3 separate regions of the Homo sapiens genome follow, and regions 1 and 2 are each linked to region 3. Evidence: promoter capture Hi-C in 16 types of primary human blood cells and fetal thymus (Javierre and others, 2016). All regions are on one chromosome and are shown on one strand. Each heading gives the region's core, a stretch centred on a gene start or on the middle of the fragment in contact. The rest is flanking DNA. Distances are from core to core; before and after follow the strand shown.

Evidence for each region. The method cuts DNA at HindIII sites, captures the fragments that hold promoters and counts their contacts. A CHiCAGO score of 5 or more calls a contact.
Region 1: the fragment with the promoter of CARINH here is called in contact with the fragment with the promoter of ZCCHC10 in region 3 in 2 of 17 cell types (neutrophils and monocytes); the score reaches 6.3 in neutrophils.
Region 2: the fragment with the promoter of IRF1 here is called in contact with the fragment with the promoter of ZCCHC10 in region 3 in 1 of 17 cell types (monocytes); the score reaches 7.2 in monocytes.

The regions. Positions count from the first base shown.
Region 1 is chr5:132,409,627-132,412,326 of GRCh38, forward strand. CARINH (colitis associated IRF1 antisense regulator of intestinal homeostasis) reads left to right here and starts at 1,303. Exons shown (of 4, transcript NR_161242.1): 1 at 1,303-1,415. RefSeq lists an enhancer at 652-701 and silencers at 942-1,241, 1,312-1,601. The HindIII fragment of the contact is 5,230 bases long and covers 1-2,700 here.
Region 2 is chr5:132,489,399-132,492,098 of GRCh38, forward strand. It overlaps IRF1 (interferon regulatory factor 1), which reads right to left and starts at 1,375. Exons shown (of 10, transcript NM_002198.3): 1 at 1,147-1,375; 2 at 1-85. The coding sequence starts at 80. RefSeq lists silencers at 207-256, 787-1,066, 1,327-1,776 and enhancers at 248-895, 1,917-2,056, 2,190-2,700, 2,327-2,536, 2,577-2,626. The HindIII fragment of the contact is 1,939 bases long and covers 1-1,865 here.
Region 3 is chr5:133,025,222-133,027,921 of GRCh38, forward strand. ZCCHC10 (zinc finger CCHC-type containing 10) reads right to left here and starts at 1,328. Exons shown (of 5, transcript NM_001300816.3): 1 at 1,276-1,328. The coding sequence starts at 1,316. RefSeq lists an enhancer at 1,088-1,397 and a silencer at 1,478-1,607. The HindIII fragment of the contact is 6,187 bases long and covers 1-2,700 here.

The DNA of each region.
Region 1 (2,700 bases), core at 53-2,552, 620 kb before region 3:
CTCATTTTGGTTTCTTGTTCCAGTTATAACAGACTGCTCTGTGTTTGCTCTATGGCAAAAACTTTTATGTTTGCTTTGCAACAAACGTACAGACAGGGCAAACTGTGTTTGGAGTATGGTGTCTTACCAATGTTTTCTAAAAGCAAGTGAATAGAAATGCTTGCAAAAGTATTTTCAGACCTCAGTGGCCAGCGCTGAACACCGCTGTAGGAATGTCCATCAAACGTTGTGGCCATGCTCCACTCTAACAAAAACCTGGTTCCGTGGCATAATTGTGGGGGCTAATTGTCAGGCTAAGTTTCAGACACCTTCCAAAAAAAATTGCAGGGCTTCCTCAGTCTTTAAACTCCAGATAATATTGTCCAAACTTTGACAACTAACCTGTTATCATGGAGATAGCTCCAAGTTGATGGACTGGCCATTAGAGAATGTCTATCAAGCATCCAGGTAAATGACTTGGTTGCTGCCCTCAAGGAACCCACTTAGAGGCTGTCAGAAAATTTTAAGTATTTTCTTCCTTCTATTGTTCATTCCTAAAATTCTGGCAGTAGGTATGATTATTATTATTCCCATCCCACAGGGGAAGTAATTAAGTCTAACTACTTGAATATTTTGCCCCAAATCACTGACAGTAAGAGACGGCCAGACACTGAAACCTGGAATCTCTAAATGTTTAGATATTGATGGGCACCGCTTAGACCAGGGAGTCCAAACCATAGGCTTGCTGTTCCAGTTTCTCTTATCGGATGAAGGGACCCCCATTTCACCGACGTCATTGACTTTTGGGTTCTCCGCTGACCCCAGATGAGATGCCTGGTACCTCATGGTCAAGTCCCCTCCAACGGGGACTCCTCAGAGGCTTGGTCCCAGTTGCTCAGGCTGCCATCTGCCTCCTCAGGCCAGAGCCCGAGGCGCCGCCAGCGGTCAGGTCCCGGGCCGGCTGCCAGCCACAGGCCCAAGTAAACGCTGAATGAAGGGCAGATGGAGGAACCTGTCCCGGTCGGCCGAAGCGCCGCGGGCGCCTTTCCACTTACGGCGGGCCTGCCCAGCCTCCCGCCCAGCCCGGGCCCGGGTCCCGCCGAGGCAGGTGTGCGTGGCGGACTAGCTCTCGGGCACTCGGCTGGCCCAGCTCCACCCCGAACGCCACCGGGCCAGGCCACGCGCAGACCCGAGCCCGGGGCCCCCGCCTCTGGCTGCCGGCCCGCGCCCGCCGCGCGCCCCGCGTTCACTGCGCGCTCGGCCCCGGTCCCGCCTCCCGGAGGGTTTCGCTTTCGCTTTCCTGCCGATGTCGTTGAGGAAAATGAAAGCGGTCGTGGCCAGGACTGGCGCAGCTGCCGTTTCAGGCGAGGGGCGCAGAATGCAGCGGCCGCCAGCCTGGAGCGCGGGCCCTGGGGCCGCAACCCGCGCCGGGCGAGGTAAGCACAGCCCCTTCGCGGCCGCCTCGCGGGCTCCTCCTTGCGGACCCGGCGGGCCCGACGCCAGGCGTTTGACCCGGGCAGGGTCAGGGGTTCTGCCGTGGGGGCGGGGAGGGCCTGAGAAGCGGCACCCTTGGGTTTCGTGGCTTTGAGCCTCCAGGCCAGGCTGGAAGACCTGGGAGGCCTCAGACAAGCGTGCCAAGGGGCTAGCAGCCCGGGGTCGAGCTGGAACCGTGGCAAGTCGGGCCACCTGAGCACGCCTTTCCCTTTTGTAGAGCACCGACCTCCCTGGGTGTTGGTAAAAATCAAAAGTGGGAGGGTGTACGTAAAATGCTGAACAGAATGCCTAACCTGAGCTCATAATCTACTCCCTCTGACCTGTCAGACTCATTTTTCCCACTGGGCCCCACCCCATACCTCATGTAGTTTGCTTAAGTTTCCTAGATCTGGTGCACCTGGGGGCACTTGGAGTGCCTTCCAAGTGTTCCTTGACCGAGCAAGCTGGCAGCTCATCTCCCTTGATCACGGGCATGGAGAGCAACTAGGCCAGGATGTGGCCCCCTTGCCCTGGCCCTGTCCATGTGAAGTCAGGGCCTTACTCTGCTGGGGCCCCCATCCCGGGGCTAGCATAGATGTCAGGGATAGGTGCACTCACAGACCGAGTCCTTCCCAGACCAGGAAATTTCCAGTCCACTGCATCTGCCAGCAGAAGCATGAAAGATGCGTGCCACCTTGTCTTTGCCCTTCGTCAAGTATAGCCAACTCATTCTTGGTATGCAGGAAGGGGGTTCCACCCCAGGGCTGTGGAAACAGCCCCTGCCCTTAGGGCGTTCCCATCCCCTGAAGAGAGAAAATATGTATTCAAGTTACCCATCAGGCAGGTTGTGTAGAACAAGGACAGGTGAGTGAAAGAGCTAAGAGCTGAGAGTAAAGTGACTAAATCATCAGAAACTTTACATTTAAGTTATGACAGGTTTTGCAGGCCAATACCAAGAATCCCCTTTAACTCAATTTTTGTCTCAATAATAATGAATTCAGCCTAATCACACAGATCTGATCATACGGCCCATTACTGAAACAAAACTTGAATGATCTTTACTTTGAGAAAACCATCTGAATTTGACAAAAGATGGTCTAAGTTCCTAAGTTTCAAAACATGGAGTCCGCCGCTGCCCTACCTCAGCAGGATGGTGTTGAGTACTGATTGCTTTTAGAAAATGCTGCTCTTGCCGGGCACGGTGGCTCACGCCTGTAATCCCAGCACTTCAGGAGGCCGAGGCGGGCT
Region 2 (2,700 bases), core at 125-2,624, 540 kb before region 3:
ATCCAGATGAGCCCCGGGATTTGGTTGGAATTAATCTGCATCTCTAGCCAGGGTCTCATGCGCATCCGAGTGATGGGCATGTTGGCTGTAAAGAGAACACAGAGGCTCCAGTCTGGAATCTGTTGAACAGTACCTGGGCAGTGACCTGCCCCACCCGAGGTCACTTAGTTACCCTCCCCTCACCTCAGCCAGCTGCTAGGTACTACACTCAGTGCGGAGGGGAGCTGCGCTGGAATAAAACTGCTCTCCAAATTTTTTCAGCATCTTAGGCAAAAATGCTTTTGCCCCTTCCTTCAGCCCCTCCCAGCCAGTCTCTGGAGGAGACAGGCATGCAAGTGATGGCTTCAGGATTCATATGCAGGAAAAGAGACAAAATGCACAGATACCCTAATTTCAGAACTTTTCGCTCAAAATTCAAATCCTTTGGGAAGGGAGGGACTTCTTTTGCTTGATGCCAAGAAGAAATTCCCTTGACTTGAGTTGTAACCACTAGCTAGCAAAGGGCTAGCCGTCACCCTGAACAGCCCCCTCCCGCCCCCCTGAATCCATTCTACGCCTTCCTGACAGCCACAGCGCCCACAACGCTAAGACCAGGACGCTAACCCTTCCGGCCCGGTTTCCCCTCCTCTGGAGAAGTGGCCCAAGGAACACCTGTGGCGCCTCTTCCCGCAGTCTCCGTAGGTCACGATTCCCTCCAGCCACCTGGGCAGTAAGCCAGCCCTTGCCACCAGCACAGGGAGCCCAAAACCTGTCGCCTGGGCGCGGAGCTGGGACCGCCGAAAGCCGGGAGCACTGGGCGCCCACGCGTGGGCTGACACTCGGTCCCCGGCACGGCGTGTGGATGCGCGGGACGAACATAGCGGGCCACCTACAGGCCCCTGGCGGCTGCGCGCACGCAGATCTGCGAAAGCTGCCGGGCGCCGGCAGCCTCGTCCGGGTGGGCGGTCCACGCCGCGTCCCGCCCTCCCCGCGCCGCGGCCCGCGGCTCGCAGCTCCTCCGGCGCCCCCCGGAGCCCGCGCGGAGGCCCGGGCAACGCCGCGCGCCGGCGAGTCTCCAGCCTGGAGCTTTCGACCCCCCACTTCCTGGTGCCCCGCGCGCCTTTTATTCGACGCCGCCGGTGCCCCGCGCCTCAAAGGCGTACTCACCTCTGCTGCAGGAGCGATTCGGCGGTCGCGCGCGAGGGTCCCGGCGACGCAGGGGCTGCAGTGAGGGCGCGCGGAGCGCGACTCCGAGTGGAAGAGGGAAGAAGGCAGAGGTTGCCGGGTTCTTAAGGCCGCCGGGCACGGCCGGCGTGGACTGGGCACGGCTCCGGGTGGCCTCGGTTCGGCGGGGCTCGGGCGCACGTCTTGCCTCGACTAAGGAGTGGCGAGCTCTGCCAGGGCAGCGGCGCCACCGAGCAATCCAAACACTTAGCGGGATTCCCCAGCCCTGGCCGGCCCCGCCCCCGGACAGCCGCGCGGGCGCCCATTGGCCGGCTGCGTGCCGTCATTTCGGGGAAATCAGGCTGTTGTAGAGCTAGCGGCGAAGGGGAAGTACAGGGCGGCTGCTCCGCCCCACCCTCTCCGGCCGGGCGCCACCGCCCCGGGGCCACCGCGGGCCCGCCCCGAGCGCTCCCAATCCACCCCTGCTCCGGCTTGCCCGGAGGAGGGCTGCCCGGGACAGCCCAGCGCCCCTGGCCCCAGCCTGTCCTCTCACTCCGCCTTGTCCCAGCCGGCTGGCTCCTGGGGCCATCTTTTCACCCTCCTGGCGGGGCGGGGGCGGGGGTATATCTCCCGAACGCAGGTGAGGGGATCGCCCGGGCACTTGCCGCCCTCTCCAGTGGGAACACTGGGCCGAATCTCCCGACTGGCAGCCTGGCTCCTCAAGCTTGCCAGTGGGATATCAAGAAGGGAGGGTTTCAGTCCTAGCACTACCCCTGTTTTTAGGGGTGACCCCCTCCCTCCAGGTCACTCACCTGCCCTGGGGAAGTGAAGAAGGCAGAAAGCCTACCCTGCCCCGTGTGCTGTCTGGGGCTGCTGGACCAGGGGAAATCCCAACTTGGCCGCTGCTGGCACAGCCCCCAAGGGACGCAGGACCTCTGTTTTTCAACCATAAAATAATAGTAGCCCTACCTTGATGGTTTGCTGTGATGGGAAGAGATTGTAAAGCACTATGCTCCACTCGGGCAACAGACGCTGAGTAGTTTTCAAGGTCGCCGTTGCAGGGTCTAATAGTGACCAGGATGACACCCCACCCCTTTTCGGTCTGCCTCCCTGGGACTCCCCCTGGCTGGCTTTAGGGAACAGAGGAGGAGAAGGGGTTCAGAGAAGCCCAGACGGCTGAGTGAGGGTAGGGGTGGGCTAGCTCTGATCCCTCCTAGCACTCTTGCCTCAGGCCGCCTCCAGAGCCTCCCTGTGGCCCGCGTATGGGAGTTCCGCAATGGAAGCATTGCTGTCATCTCTGAGTCCCCAGGGCTTGGCCCAGAGAGGTTCTGGGCAGCATGGAGGAATTAGCTCAGGGCTGATCAACGCCATGGGGCTAGCCAAAGGGTTGGGGAGCCCAGGTCCCATGCTCCTTGGTAAGGCCCCTACTTAACTCTCGCGCACAACTAGTCCCCGCCCCACGTATAGTCCTAGAGACTTGACTGGGTGTTCATTTTCCATCCAAAACTCTGGCCCAGGAGGCTTCTTCCTTCATCTCCCTAAAGCTCCTGCAGAAGT
Region 3 (2,700 bases), core at 78-2,577:
TTGCCGCGCGCGGTAGCTCACGCCTGTAATCCCAGCACTTTGGGAGGCCAAGGCGGGCGGATCTCGAGGTCAGGGGATCGAGACCATCCTGGCTAACACGGTGAAACCCCATCTCTACTAAAAATACAAAAAACCAGCCGGGCATGGTGGCGGGCGCCTGTAGTCCCAGCTACTCGGGAGGCTGAGGCAGGGGAACGGCGTGAACCCGGGGGGCGGAGCTTGCAGTGAGCCAAGATTGCACCTCTGCACTCCAGCCTGGGAGACAGAGCAAGACTCCGCCTCAAAAAAAAAAAAAAAAAAAAAAAAAAAAAAGAAAGGGGCATCTGGGGTGACCCTTGCATTATTTGTCAGCTATGAATCTCTTCTGCCACTCTCTCTTGTTCATTAGGCGTAATGGCTATCTTTCAGTTCTGTAAAAAGTAAGTTTCAGGCTCAAAGCAATTATGCCACTATCCGGATGCTCTTTCTCAAAATCCTCGTATGACTGTTCCTTTTTCATCCTTTAAATCTCTGTTCAAATTCCACCTCTTCAGAGATGCCTTTCCAGTCCAACCAACCTAAAGTGGGCCTTTCCCTCTTTCCATCACAACAGCTTACTTCCTTCAAAGCTGTTATCACCAGCTGTATTTACAATTTGTGGTTTATCGACTGTTTCCATCACTAGAATGTAAGCTCTCTGAAAGCAAGGATTTTGTCTTGAACACCTCTATTTATACCCAATGTCTGGCACAGAACGGTAGGAACTAAATAAATTAATATTTATTGAAAGAGAGAATGAGTAGCAAAAGGTGGTAAGATAGCCTGGGAAAGCAATCGGCATTGAAGGCAGGGTGTTCCTAAGGAAGGCGCTAGAATAAGGAAGTAGGAAAAGGCAGCTGGGCTGGACACTGAATAGGAAACTGAAGGTTTACGTCGGCTGGAATAAAGGTGTCGGACCGGGGCTTCAGGGCTCCCCTGTCCACGCGTGGGGTTGGCGGAGGGGCATAAATCACTGAGTGACCAACTGTGGGCGTTCCTTTCAGAGAAACCAAACGCGACAGTTGTCTTCAAACCCCGCTCTGTCCCGTGCCGCAGACTTTACGCGGCTGTCTTCCGCGAAATCGCTAACCCCCGGTCACCAGACTTATCGCCCGGGCCCGAGCCCCCCGGGAGCCAGAAGAGTGTTTGAGAAACGGACATTCTCCGCCGGTCCCAATAGGGGTCCGACACCAGCCCGTTGACGCGCGTTTCCCCGCTCCCAGCCCTCCAGTGGACCCGAACCGGATCCTTACTTACGCTTGTCTCCGGGCTATTAGCCGATGCATGGGAGTCGCCATCTTAGCGCGGTCAAAGCCGGCCGCGCAGGGTTTTGGGAAACTCCTCGGAAGGGCGGGGCTTCCAACCGGGAGGCCGTAGACGTAGGCGGGGCCAGACAGGCTTCTAAGGGGAGGTATCTTAGTGCCGGCTGGTGGGTCGGGAGGGGAGGGGCTGGAGGGTCGGGAGGGGAGGGGCTGGAGGGTCGGGAGGGGAGGGGCTGGAGGGGCTGGAGGGTCGGGACGGGAGGGACTGGTGGGTCGGGAGGGGCCGGTGTCTCCAGTATGGGTCTCGGGTTCTCGGGCCGAACAGGGTTTCAAAGGATGATTACAGGCAAGAACATTATCTGTGGAAAATGAGGACAACATTCTCGAACGAGGGATACACATACAAAGACAAAGAATGAAACTTTGGTGTTCAGAAAACTAGAAGTAGTCTGGAGAATAGAAAGGAATTAGTTGACCAGGATTGAGACCATCAATTGAAAGAATGACTTTAGCAAGCCATGGAGTGCAAACATATACGTTATTTCTGTTTTTTATGTATTTCACAGCGTTGTTACGAGTACTAAATGGGACTGTATAACTAAAGCTGCTTTATCAAGCAGAAAAGGACTATACAAATATTTTAGAATATTTTAGCTGCACCTACATCTAATGTCAGCTCACGGAGCTATTATTCTCTTAAAACCCACGTTCTCTGAAATATATATAATTTTCTGAAGTGTGTGTGTGTTTCTGGGTCATCCATATTTTTTCCTTTTTTTTTTAATTTGAGACAGAGTCTCGCTGTGTCGCCAGGCTGGAGTGCAGTGGCGCGATCTCGGCTCAGTGCAACCTCTGGGTCCCTGGTTCAAGAGATTCTCTTGTCTCACACTCCCGAATAGCTGGGATGACAAGCACGCGCCACCATGCCCAGCTAATTTTTGTATTTTTACTAGAGACAGGGTTTCACCATGTTGGCCAGGATGGTCTCGATCTCCTGACCTCATAATCCGCCCGCCTCGGCCTCCTAAAGTGCTGGGATTACAGGCGTGAGCCACCGCGCCCAGCCATATTTTTTCAATTAATAATTAACACTTAAAATGTTTTAGGAGCTGAGGACAGAGCATTTGAACAAATAAAATCCGTGTACACATGGAACTTTCTACAGACAATGAATGAAGACTATTCTCATGGGCATAAGTACTCTAACGAAAAATATTTCAGAGTAAGGGATTAAAGAGTGATTAGGAGTTAGGGAAGGTGATGATGTGACCTTTGAGCACAACTTGTTCTTCAAAAAAATAGGCTCTTACATGTTGTGTTCTCCAGCTTGATTTTTTCATTCCTCAGTGTACTTATGAAAATGTTTTCCCGGCCAGGCGCAGTGGCTCACGCCTGTAATCCCAGCACTTTCGGAGGCCGA